Regions from separate parts of the Homo sapiens genome. Here all the other regions are linked to region 3. Evidence: promoter capture Hi-C in 16 types of primary human blood cells and fetal thymus (Javierre and others, 2016). All regions are on one chromosome and are shown on one strand. Each heading gives the region's core, a stretch centred on a gene start or on the middle of the fragment in contact. The rest is flanking DNA. Distances are from core to core; before and after follow the strand shown.

The links. Contacts are between HindIII fragments. The CHiCAGO score rates a contact against its expected background, and 5 or more counts as called.
Region 1: a fragment that was not itself captured here is called in contact with the fragment with the promoter of CAPZB in region 3 in 1 of 17 cell types (neutrophils); the score reaches 5.6 in neutrophils.
Region 2: a contact is called between a fragment that was not itself captured here and the fragment with the promoter of CAPZB in region 3, in 2 of 17 cell types (total CD4 T cells and non-activated CD4 T cells). The highest score is 6.5, in total CD4 T cells.
Region 4: a fragment that was not itself captured here is called in contact with the fragment with the promoter of CAPZB in region 3 in 1 of 17 cell types (neutrophils); the score reaches 5.6 in neutrophils.

Annotation. Positions count from the first base shown.
Region 1 is chr1:19,236,377-19,239,612 of GRCh38, forward strand. EMC1 (ER membrane protein complex subunit 1) reads right to left here. Exons shown (of 23, transcript NM_015047.3): 9 at 2,855-2,926; 10 at 2,419-2,481; 11 at 1,641-1,763; 12 at 766-862. All of the region lies in intron 1 of EMC1-AS1 (EMC1 antisense RNA 1), which reads left to right. Among named protein-coding and RNA genes, the nearest start is that of EMC1, 14 kb to the right of the region's middle. The HindIII fragment of the contact is 1,117 bases long and covers 1,429-2,545 here.
Region 2 is chr1:19,707,703-19,710,838 of GRCh38, forward strand. The region is part of intron 13 of TMCO4 (transmembrane and coiled-coil domains 4); the gene reads right to left. Among named protein-coding and RNA genes, the nearest start is that of HTR6, 44 kb to the left of the region's middle. The HindIII fragment of the contact is 3,454 bases long and covers 160-3,136 here.
Region 3 is chr1:19,484,014-19,487,014 of GRCh38, forward strand. CAPZB (capping actin protein of muscle Z-line subunit beta) reads right to left here and starts at 1,526. Exons shown (of 9, transcript NM_004930.5): 1 at 1,423-1,526. The coding sequence starts at 1,425. It also overlaps a transcript of LOC105376819 not described here. RefSeq lists enhancers at 1-311, 312-819, 820-1,328 and silencers at 1,233-1,342, 1,373-2,102. The HindIII fragment of the contact is 2,873 bases long and covers 1-2,718 here.
Region 4 is chr1:19,298,752-19,302,078 of GRCh38, forward strand. It overlaps LOC124903867 (a long non-coding RNA gene), which reads left to right. Exons shown (of 3, transcript XR_007065521.1): 2 at 3,127-3,327. Among named protein-coding and RNA genes, the nearest start is that of AKR7A3, 12 kb to the left of the region's middle. The HindIII fragment of the contact is 8,280 bases long and covers 1-3,327 here.

The DNA of each region.
Region 1 (3,236 bases), core at 737-3,236, 250 kb before region 3:
CCAGGCACGGTGGCTCACACCTGTAATCCCAGCACTTTGGGAGGCCGAGGCAGGTGGATCACCTGAGGTCAGGAGTTTGAGACCAGCCTGACAAACATGGTGAAACCCCATCTCTACTAAAAATACAAAATTAGCCAGGCGTGGTGGTGCATGCCTGTAATCCCAGCTACTTGGGAGGCTGAGGCAGGAGAATCACTTAAACCTGGGAGGCAGAGGTTGCAGTGAGCTGAGATCATGCCACTGTACTCCAGCAGTCTGAGCAACAAGAGCAAAACTCCGTCTCAAAAAAAAAAAAAAAAGCAGGTGACAGGCCAGGCACGGTGGCTCACACCTGTAATCCCAGCACTTTGGGAGGCCGAGGCAGGCGGATCACTTGAGGTCAGGAATTCGAGACCAGCCTGGCCAACATGGGGAAACCCTGTCTCTACTGAAAATACAAAAATTAGCTGGTCGTGGTGGCACACGCCTGTAATCCCAGCTACTCAGGAGGCTGAGGCAGGAGAATCGCTTGAATCCGAAAGGTGGAGATTGCAGTGGGCCGAGATCATGCCACTGCACTCCAGCCTGGGCAAGAGAGCAAGACTCTATCTCAAAAAAAAAAAAAAAAAAAAAAAAGCAGGTGACATTTGGCTATGAACGAAACACTCAGGGCACACTCCACTTGAATCTCTTCCAGAAACCTGCAGCCTCCCAAAAAACAGTCTGATTGGAACACATTGGAAGGCCTGGGGAAATAAAAAAATGGGTTGAATGAGGTCTACTTACCCAACTGCTGCAGGAAAAGTAGCAGATGATCCTCTGTCTGCACCAAAGCCCGGTAGCCCACTGAGTCATCCTTCTTCAAGAACACCTGGATATACAGCTATAAGCCACAGTCAAGACCGGTGTAGTCAGTGAGGATCCAAATGCCTCTGAGAGCACCAGACCCCAGGAGTCAAAGCCTGGACTTAACAGAGGTACAGGCCATGGCATTATTTGATGTCTAAACAATGTAGCTATTATCTGGATGCCAGTAAGTGATACATATTCTTAGGAGCCAACATAATGATGCTGGGGTCTCCCAGACCTTTCCATGGAAGAACCTGAGTACTCCACGGGTACCACGCCATTCATCCATGCTCTAATCACACCCCACAAAGTGAGCAGGAGGCCGGGATTAGACTTTCCGCTTTAGAAACGAAGAAGCCACAGCCCAAGCAGCTGAGGAACACAACCAGATGCACACAGAGGCAATACTGGGTAGTGATGAGGAGTCCAGGCTGTGGGGTTAGACCTGAATCTGAACCGCAGTGACACCTCTTACTGGCTCCGTGACTCTGGCTATGGTACTCGATCCCACCAGGCCACAGAATCATTTTAAAACCAGGTCAGGAACAACCGCTTCATGAGAGTGTTTGGAGGGTTAAATCAATTAATGTGTAAGTTAAAAGCTTAGAACAGTCCCTGGTGCACAATGATGAGCTGGCATAAATAATACCCGCCTTTACTGTGACTTCTAACAAGTCAGTGGCTCAGAGAGCACTAGAACACATGTTTAGAGAGCCTAATCCAAGCCCCATGGCTAAGACCTGGCCCTGAGGAAAGGAAGCCATGTGCTGAGAAGCCCACAGGACAGTCTGCAAAGAAAGGCTCTGCCTTACCCGCTCAGGCCGAGTGCCGCTCTGTTCCAGGCTAAATGTTATCGTGGTGTCCAGCAGCCGCCGACCTGTCTCCACGAGGTATAGGTTAATGGTGTAGGTCTGATTGAAGCAAGCCAGAGAGTCCTAGGAGTACAGACAGCACGTGTCAACTACAGGTATCCCCCGAAAGCAAAGCCCACCAAAGGAAGTCCAAGGATTGGGGGCAAATACCCTAGAGAAGGAGCCAGGCCAGAAGGGGAAATATATGCAAAGGAGAATAAAAGAGAAAAGCAAGCTAAATCCTAAGGCAGAAATAAGGTGCCTGAGTAAATAAATGAAATTACAACTACCATACTTGTCTTGGAAGCCAGTACAGAGTAGCAGAGACTTCTGAGAGAGAGGTAGGGCTGAGCAAGGTAAGACTGAGCAAGACAGGAGGCAGGGAAACGCTTAGATGGAAGCCACAGCAGGAACCTATGCCTCCAGCCAGGGGCTCATGCCTCTGCTACAGGGTAACTGCACAGAGTACTACTCAACTGTGCCAGCCAGGATCCCAAAAGAAATGGGGACGCTGAGGCCCAGAGGAGAAAGTGGCTAGAAACAGACTCTAGGGATTCTACCTCCTAATCTCCCGGTAAAATGAGATTAAGAGAAACATCATTTAATTTACAGTACTTAGGAAACCTCATTTGAAGCTGGGAACTCTAGGACCTGCTCCTAACCAAAGCTCTTCCCCCAACTCTCTTTGGTGGCCTCCTGCGTCTCTAGGTCTGGCATACTGCCCAGTGCCACACCATACCTTTGAACTAGACTTCTCCGAAAAGCTCCCCATTGACCCATCTTCAGAACTGCTACTTTTCTGCTATGAGAAAGAGAAGGACAGGAGAAAATTCAGCCAAAGGGTCACTTCCCAGTCACTGAAATGAAGCTTTTGTTTTTGTCTTCTTAGCACTTGAGAGAAGACAAAGCTCATTTCTCACCCCTGCCCACAAAGCCTATTCAACCCTTAATAGCCCCATATGAAAGTAAGGTCATCACATTAGGGTCTCGTTCCTGGGGAGAAATGGGGTGTGCAGAAAGCTCTATAGTTGAGGCAAGACCTCACTTCTCAACAGCCTCCTGCCCGCTGGGTTCAAACTGACCAGGTCAATGTGCCCAGACTTCTGATTTTCAGGGTTCCTAGTGGAGACCAGGAAGGAAAATCCCAAGTGCTGACTGTTGTTCTCAATACTCACCACTTCATTCCGACAGGCCATGACTGCAGCCACCGTCTTCTCCCCAGTGGTGGCAAAGCTCACTAGGGCAGTCTGGGGGAAAAGCAAGGCATCAGCTCCTAAATGGGACCAGTACTAGCCAGCTGCCTTACAGAGGGTCACCTCTCCAGGGAAGGCCCTTGGCCTTAGAGTTGAAAGTGCTCCCCACTTTGGAGCAGAATGGTCAGGCATTTAAGAGCAGAGGGAGGCCTCAGTTGCATCTACAGCTGAAAACAGAACTCTCCCTACCTCCAACGCAGGCACAGGTCAATCTTAAATCCCATGCTGCTTGTTCTTACTATCTATGGGGAAGCTCTCATTTATGTCCCCATATTTCCTTTGGACTAAGGAAGGCACTAGTTTT
Region 2 (3,136 bases), core at 637-3,136, 220 kb after region 3:
TATTAGTCCATTTTCACACTGCTAGAAAGACCTACCTGAGACTGGGTAATTTATGAAGAAGAGAGGTTTAATTGACTCACAGATCCACAGGCTTAACAGGAAGCATGACTGGGAGGCCTCAGGAAACTTACAATCATGGCGGAAGGTGAAGGGGAAGCAAGCTTGTCTTCCCATGGTGGAGCAGGAGAGAGAGTGAAGGGGAAGTGTGACACACCTTTAAGCAACCAGATCTCGTGAGAACTCACTATCATGAGAACAGCATGGGGAAATCTGTCACTATAATCCAATCACCAATCGCCTCCCACCAGGCCTCTCCTTCAACACAGCGGGATTACAACGCCACATGAGATTTGGGTGGGGACACAGAGCCAAACCATATCACTTGTATAAGGGTAAACAATTCTACTCTGGGGGTTTGGGACAGCCTAGTTTTGTTAGAGGCTATTGTAGGGAAGCCTACGATGGTACTGTCACATGCTGAACCATTCTGAATGCTTCCAGACAGCATCCTCAGAAGAGGAAACAGAAAGTTCAAAGGTCAAAGACCCCCAGAATTTAGATAATTTCTGTTTCTATCTTGTGAATTGCTCTTGTCATGTTTTCAGCAGCTCACACTGGACTCCTGAGACGGTGCTTTACCACTTGGTACCCCTAAAAGTCTGGAAATTATCTTAGCTTTTTAAAAAAAAAATACATAAATAAAAAAAAAAAAACCCAAGAGCTGAGAATGGACAGCGTCATCACAGCAGCAAACTTCAGCTCACACTAGAGCCTTGATCTCAAAAACTGTGTTTAAATTAAGTTTTTTGTGAAACTAAACATTCTTAAAATGCACAAAGCGGGGCCAGCCCTTCCAAAGGGCCCCACAGAGAACACTTTCGGACAGTGTGGGGCCTTTGCCAGCGGGAATCAGGTGAAGGTCCCAGCTTCACCTTTGTCATTTCCCCCTTTCCACACAGTGAGCTTCCTTAAAGTGAGGCAAACCCTCACAGAGCTTTCTGTTATCCCAGGGCCTGCTCCTTTAGCTGCCACTCAGAAATCTCATCAAACAGCTGGGAAGGCAGCACCTCTCACTCCCACATGCCTGTCACGCTGTCAGTAAAGAGATTCTGCTGGGCTGCAAAGACCAAAGAATCACAAGTTCAAGAAGCAAAAAAGAAGGATTTTCTCCCTCCTGGTGGGGGTTCATGTGTGCAGCGAGTGATAAGGTAGAAACCAAGGAGGAATTTATTTCCTGACTGCGGGTCCAGTAAAAAGACCTTGAAGGAAACACTATGAACTGCACTAACACAAATGAAATCCATTCCAAAGATACACACGTGCACATGATAGACACGTAGAGAGAGGCCACAGAAGGGAGGGGGGACCAAGAAAGGAGAAAGGGCGGCTTTGACTGTACCCCCAAGCCCCGCAGTGGAATGAGGTTCACACTGGAAAGAATCGCTTAAAGGAGCCTGTTTGGACATATACCAGGATTTGGGATGAATTCTTTAAGGGAATGACTAAACCTTCATCTCTCCTCTTTGATTCCCATCTCTTTTATTTGGTCATGCAAAGTGATAAGGCTATTACTAACATCCCGGCGGGGGGGGGGGACCCTAAAAATTAATCTGCACTGCCTGACCTCCCCTCCTTCTCCCCTCCCCCCACCCCAGGGGGACTAAAGCTGGGTTTGTCTGAGAATAAAGCAACTGGTGGATACAATCCATGGAAGGGAAATAAATCACATCAAATGTAATGTCTGCTGTCTGCTATCATGGAGATGAAAGAGCCAGCTGACCGAGTGACAGTCTCTTCTGCATTTCAGCTGATATCTAGTGACAGCCCAGACATAATTTTCAGCCAAGTAAGAATTTGGGGACTCAAGGGTCAGGATGTTTAAATGTATCTTTGTGAGCACATTGACAAACTCTTTGGCTTTGGTTTTATCTTGCAAACATCATGGGCAATAATGTTGGCCTAACTTCACAGGGGCAGGGAATGAAACCGGAGATTGTGCTGCAAGGCTTTTTTGTTTCTGTTTGTTTTTTTTTTGTATAAAAACAAACAAACAAAAAAAGCTCTGGAATTCTATTTTTTTTTCTTTTCTTTCTTTTTTTTTTTTAGACAGAATCTCGCTCTTGTTGCCCAGGCTGGAGTGCAATGGCGTGGTCTCAGTACACTGCAACCTCCACCTCCTGGGTTCACGTGATTCTCCTGCCTCAGCCTCCCGAGTAGCTGGGATTACAGCCACCATGCCCAGTTAATTTTGTATTTTTAGTACAGATGGGGTTTCTCCATGTTGGTCAGGCTGGTCTTGAATTCTCGACCTCAGGTGTTCTGCCCGCTTCAGCCTCCCAAAGTGCTAGGATTACAGGTGTGAGCCACCGTGCCCAGCCTGGAATTCTATTTTTTAAAAATTTATTTTATTTTTTATATTTTGAGACCAGGTCTTGCTCTGTTGCCCAGGATGGAGTGCAAGTGGTGTGATCATAGCTCACTGCAGCCTCAACCTCCCAGGCTCAAGCCACCCTCCTGCCTCAGCGTCCCAAGTAACTGGGACTACAGGTGTGTGTTACCATGCCCCCATTTTTTTTTTTTTTGGATTTTTAGTAGAGATGGGATCTCACTATGTTGCCCAGGTGGGTATCGAACTCCTGAGCTCAAGCAATCTTCCTGCCTCAGCCTCCCAAAGTGCTGGGATTCCATCGCACCTGGCTGGAATTCCATTTCTTAATCCTCGTCCTCCTCTTCCTCTTCTTTATCATCATCATCTCAGTTTATTTCAGGGTAGGCTCAGGACTAAGTGCTTCATACATCAATTAATTTCCTTTACTCTTCACAACAATCCTAGGAGGTAAGCATGACCACTTCCATTTAACGATGGGAAGCCTAGCCTCCGACACGCCAAGTAATTTGTCCAAGATCACACAGTAAGTAAGTGGCATGGTGGAATTTGGTTATTCTTATATTTTCCCTCCTACTCTCCTGTCCCACTTCCCTTTGCAATCAAATAAAACCTTGAACCAAAATACATGTCTTCTGACACCTGACATCTTTCAAAATTGTGTATGAAAGCCAGAACACACACACCTGTGAAGGTGAACATTTCAGATTTTGTTGATTCAAGGGACAACTAGCAGGCTAGAATTTCCTA
Region 3 (3,001 bases), core at 276-2,775:
TTCCAACCTAAGTGCTGGGCCTGTCCTGCAGAAGGGTCAAGTGGCAGGAGGGCAGGTCTATCTGTGGGGGCCTATGTGAAACCCCAGGTTCCTCAAAAGTCTGGATAGCATCTGCCTTCTTTACCAAAACAAACACCACGAGCGGAGCCAGCACTCTCCCTAGGCGTTCTGCTCACCTGATCCGAGGGACTTCCATAATCAGCAGTTCCAACCCTTGCAAGCTGACAGTTCAGAGGGAAGGGGAGGCTGCGCCTGCTTGGGTGCATCGTGTCCAGGCCATATGCTGGATCCAGGGCCTGGTGGCCCCCCAAGGCCACGGCCTCACAAGGGCGATTGTGCGTTCATCCTTGTCCTGTGGGCCACCCATCCTCGCCCCTCGGCTCCCACTCAGGCCCGGGCGCCGTGGACCCCGGCCTGCCCTGCAGAATGCTTCGCACGCACAGCACCCACGGCGGCAGCCTCGAGAAGGGCCCGCAGAGCAGCGCGCTGCCTTCTGGGCACACCGATGCCCGCCCTTCCCTCGCTGGCTCCTAGGCGGCCTCCCTAGAAGCGGCAACTGAGAAGGCACAGCACCGGGACCACCCCATCCCTGATGGAGAGCTCCCCTCGCTCCCCAAAGGCTGCAAAGAAGGCGCGCCCCAGGTACAGGGAAGGGGACCCTGGGTCGTGCACCAGGCAGGGGGCAGGACCCTGATGAGAGGCTCAGGGCGGGGACCGAGCGGGGCTGACGCAGGTTACGCTAGGAGTGGCGAAAAGTCCAGGGAAGGGGATCATGGTGGGGAGGGGGCAGTGAGGTCCAGACGGGGGCCATGGGCGGAGAAGAGGAGGTCCAGATTTAAGTTCACAGAGAGAAGAGGAGATTCAGGCTGAGGCCACGGAGAAGAGGGGAAGCAAACCTAGGCCGCTGCAGAAGGGGCTGACCGGGGTCCAGCCTGAGGCCATGGAGAAGGCAAAGGGGGAGGGACAGAGGGAGGCAGCGGCCTAGCCTGGGCCATGGCAGGGAGAAACGACGGCCTAGCCTGGGCCGGAGAGACGGGGGAAAGCAGACCTAGCCCTAGACCGGGGGAGGAAGGGGGCCCACGCCAGGGTCACCGAGGGGGTGCCTGGCTGGGGACACGGTTCGGGAGGGAGGGTCTAGCCTGGGCTATGGGAGAGACCAGCCTGAACACAGAGGTAGTGAGTGGGACTCCAGCTTGCGCCAAGGGCGGGGGCTGGGAGCGGGGGCAGGGTCACTGCCACCCAAGTCGTCCGCGCCGGCGGCACCCTCCTGGGCGGGGAGGGACCGGGTCCACCCAGGGTCCGGGACCCCGCCCCTCCCCCACCCCGGGAAGCCACCCGTCCCAGGCCAGGGATGGGCAGGGGGAGGGGGACGCGAGCTCCGGAGGGGCCCCCGGGCCGGGGAGGGGGCCGTGCGGCCTTTACCATGGTGGCGGCGGCGGCGGCGGTCCCGGTCCCGGCGTCAGTGGCTCTCCCCCCCGCAGCAGGGCCCGGCGCTTCCACTTCCCCGGGTGCCCAGGAGTGAACATCCGGGTCAGCACCCCCCTCCCCCCGCGCCGGGCCGCCGCCACCTTCCTTCCCCGCCCCGGCCCGGCCCGGGCCCGCCCCCCACGCCGCCAGCTCGCGGCCAATGAGCGCGCGGGGCTGCGGCGATCGCCAAGTATGGAGAGCGGCGCGAGAGGCGGGCGCCGACGGGGTGCGGGGGCGGGGCCTGCGAGGCGGGGCGGGGCGCGGCGCTGCGCGGCGCGGCTGCCGGGAGTCCCCGGCACGGGTTGCGGGCCGGGGCGGAAAGGTCTCCTGGCTGTCTGAGGTCCAGTCCCCGACTCTGGGCCTGCAGCAGCGAGTGGCGGCGAGGGAACCGCACCCCACAGTCCCCGCGGGCGGGGATGCGGAAGGCACCGCGGCTGGGAGGGGACCGGCCCTCCGCGCCCCACCCCGTGCACGCGCTCACTCCTGCGGCGCACCCGGAACTGCCGCCGAGCGCGGACCGGCCCGGCCCAGCCCAACCCAGCCCAACCCAGCACTGGGGGAGCGCGCCGGGAGCGGGGCAGGAGCCCAGCGCTGCCGCTCGCTACGGCAGGATCTGGAGCGCCGCGCTGCACCTGAGCCCGGGCACGAATTGAGGAGCCTCGGGCTGACGCCATTTATTCAGCACCTACTATGTGCCAGGCCTTGTTTAGGCACCGGAAGATAACAGATAAGACATAAAGATCCCTGCCGGTATAGCTGCAGACAGAATATCTGTGAGGATGACACAGGTAGAGATTAGAAAATTAAGTTCAACAGGTCGGCCGCGGTGGCTCACGCCTGTAATCCCAGCACTTTGGAAGGCCGAGGCGGGCCAAGGTCAAGAGATCGAGACCATCCTGGCCAACATGGTGAAACCCCGTTTCTACTAAAAATACAAAAATTAGCTGGGCGTGGTGGTTCGCTCCTATAGTCCCAGCTACTCGGGAGGCTGAGGCAGGAGAATCGTTTGAACCCGGGGGCAGAGGTTGCAGTGAGCCAAGATCGCGCCACTGCACCCCAGCCTGGCGACAGAGCAAGACTCTGTCTCAAAAGAAAAAAAATTAAGTTCAACAAATGCTAGCTGTTATGAGTACTGTTGAATGTGCTACAGAGAACCATTCCATTAGCCCAGAAGGGCTTCCTCGCTCCACAAAGTGACTCAAGTTTCTCTCTCCCAATCTCTCTCTCTCTCTCTCAATCAAATATTTGTTAAGCTTAGTCTAGGTAGCAGGAGAGATCTGGATTGCTAACAATATCTGCCTCCGTGGCCTGTTTGCTTTGGTTAAATCAAATTAGGCGATCTGTGAGGGGATGGTAAACTGCACAGATGACAGGAATTGTTTCCCTGAGCCAGGCCCTGTCCTCAGGGAGCTCATAGACAAGTCGAAGCTTTCACAGGTAGCCACTGGCAGAAAAAGCATACGGGTAAGTCTCGCAAGAATGGTATTGGATGAGTATTACAGAAATTCAAGGAAGAGAATGGCACACGCAGTAG
Region 4 (3,327 bases), core at 828-3,327, 180 kb before region 3:
AACTCCCTTTCTTATGTACATATATCCTGTTAGTTCTGTCCCTCTAGAGAACTCTAACATGCTATGTTATATGACATAAGCATGACATTAACTACACTAAACCATATGACAGTGTTTTTAAAATTCTTGTATAAAGCAGTATCTCATTAGTTTGTGTGTTAAATGCAAGACCTTGCTTCTTTAATCTGTTGAATGAACCCCAAACAGTTATATCAGTAACAGCAATTGCACAGTTATATACACAGTCAATTAAGTTTTAGCACTAACGATAATTTAATTTTAGGTGTGGCCTCTGTGGATCTGTATCAGTCCCAAAATTTAGAAAGCACAGGCATGGAAGGGTACATTTTTCTCACCTAAGGAAAAACAGTAAGATAAAACAAAACGTTAAAATAAAAAATCGGCCAGGCATGGTGGCTCACGCCTGTAATCCCAGCACTTTGGGAGGCCGAGGCAGGCGGATCACGAGGTCAGGAGATTGAGACCATCCTGGCTAACACAGTGAAACCCCATCTCTACTAAAAATACAAAAAAATTAGCCGGGTGTGGTGGTGGGTGCCTGTAGTCCCAGCTACTCGGGAGGCTGAGGCAGGAGAATGGTGTGAACCTGGGAGGCGGAGCTTGCAGTGAGCCGAGATCATGCCACTACACTCCAGCCTGGGCAACAAAGTGAGACTCTGTCTCAAAAAAATAATAATAAATAAAAAATAAATAAAATAAAATAAAAAATCGATGCCCCCTCCTCCTTCAGTCTTTCATACAGCACAGAACAGCTTCCTTAGTTTGAGGATGATTAAATATATGAGATGCTCTCCAGATCCAGCTCTGCTTCTTTAGATTTTTTTGTTCCTTCTCACTTACTTATTATTTTTTTTTGAGACGGAGTCTCGCTCTGTCACCCAGGCTGGAGTGCAGTGGCGCAATCTCAGCTCACTGCAACCTTGGCCTCCTGGGTTCAAGCAATTCTTCCACCTCAGCCTCCTGAGTAGCTGGGACTACAGGCACCTGTTACCTCGCCCGGCTAATTTTTGTATTTTTAGTAGAGACGGGGTTTCACCATATTGGCCAGGCTGGTCTTGAACTCCTGACCTCGTGATCCACCTGCCTCGGCCTCCCAAAGTGCTGGGATTCCAGGCGTGACCCACTGCGCCTGGCCTCACTTATTTATTTTTTAATTAACAAATAAAAATTGTATATATATTTAAGGTGTACAACATGGTGTCTTCAAGAATCTCTTTAGATATGAAATTGCTGAATTCAAGAGACCATCAACTATGAGATATAGTATCCGGAAGATTCTAACGGATGGGATGTGACATAGCAGAAAATGCATCTCTGATGGGGATAGTCAAGACACAGTCTCCTGGCAGGTCCCGGGGCTCACCTTCTCCACTCAGGACTGTTGCTCCAAGTGTTACAGTTTATTTTCCAAAGATAACCACTCCATTCTCTCACGTGCTCTTTGCACAGGTATCTTTGACTCTCCTCCCAGGACACAAGAGTGATGTTATGGACTTCTGAGGCTGGGACATAAAAGGCCACATGGCTTCTGCCTAGTTTGCCTGGGATGTGCTCCCTTGGAAGCCACATGCAGAGGTCACGTGTGTGCCGGTTGATGACAGCAGCTGATATTCCAGCTGGCCCTCAGCAGCAACTGCCACATGCTTGAGTGAATGTCTTCAGGCAACCCTAGCCTCCAGCTGCTAGATCACCTCTGAGACACTGAGGAACAGATGAGGCTTCCCTGCTGAGCCCTGCTCTAACAGATTTCTGAGCTAATTGATTGTTTTATTACATATTATTGAGGCACTATATACAACTGACCCACTTAAAGTGTATAATTTAATGGTGTTTAGTGTATTCTGAATTGTACAACCACCACAGTCAATTTCAGAGCATTTTTATCACCTCCCCAAAAGAAACTCTGTACTCAGTAGCAGTGAATCTCCATTTCCTCCCAAACTCCCTCTCAGTCCTAGGCAACCACTCATCTACTTTCTGTGTCTAATAGATTTGCTTATTCCAGATACTTCATATAAATGGAATCATACAATATGAGGCCTTTTGTGACTGGCTTCTTTCACTTAACATGTTTTTAAGGTTCATCCACATTGTAGATGTTTCATACTTAATTCCTTTTTTTTTTTGAAAAATGTTCCATTGTACATACAGATATTTTGTTTATCCATTCACCTATTAAGATTGACATTTGGGCAGTTTCCACTTTCTGGCTATTATGAATAATGCTGCTATAACATTCACGTAATTTTTAATAAGGACATATATTTCTTTTTTTCTTTTTTTTGAGACAGAGTCTCACTCTGTCACCCAGGCTGGAGTGCTGCGGCAAGATTTCGGCTCACAGCAACCTCCGCCTCCCAGGTTCAAGCGCTTCTCCTGCCTCAGCCTCCCAAGTAGTTGGGATTACAGGTGTGTGCCACCACGCCTGGCTAATTTTTGTATTTTTAGTAGAGATGGAGTTTCACCATGTTGGCCAGGCTGGTCTTGAACTCCTGACCTCAGGTGATCTGCCCATCTCGGCCTCCCAAAGTGCTAGGATTACAGACGTGAGACACTGCGCCCAGCCTCATTTCTTCTAGGTATACCTAGGGAGTGAAATTTCTGGGTCATATAAATGCTTAATCTTTTGAAAAACTGCCAGAATGTTTTCCAAAATGGTTGCACCGTTTTACAGTCTCAATGGCGGTGTCCTAAGTCTCCCATTTCTCCAAACCCTCAACACTTGTTATTTTCTGTATTTTATTGACTCTGATGATCCTAGTGCTTAGCAGATTTGAAGGGGTTTTGATTTGCTTTTCCCTGATAAGTACTGATTTTGAGCAGCTTTCCATGTGGTTACTGACCACCTGTATGCCCTCTGGAAAAAGGTCTATTCCAATAATTTGCCCATTGTTTAATTGGGATTTCTTTCTTTTCTTTTTTTTTTTTCTTTTTTGAGGTAGGGTCTTGCTCTGTTGCCCAGGCTGGAGTGCAATGGTCTGATTTTGGCTCACTGCAGCCTCCACCTCCTGGGCCCAAGAGATCCTCCCACCTCTGCCTCTCGATTAGCTGGGACCACAGGTGCCCGCCACCATACCCGACTAATTATTTTGGTATTTTTTGTAGAGACAGGGTTTTGCTGTGTTGCCCAAGCTGGTCTTGAACTCCTGGGCTTAAGTGATCCGTCCGCCTGGCCTCCCAAAGTGCTGGGATTACAGGCGTGAGCCAGTGCACCCAGGTGGGTTTTCTCTTTTATTAAGTTGTAAGAGTCCTATAGCTAGAATAGATACAAGATTCTTAACAGATATGTGATTTGCAAAATACTAT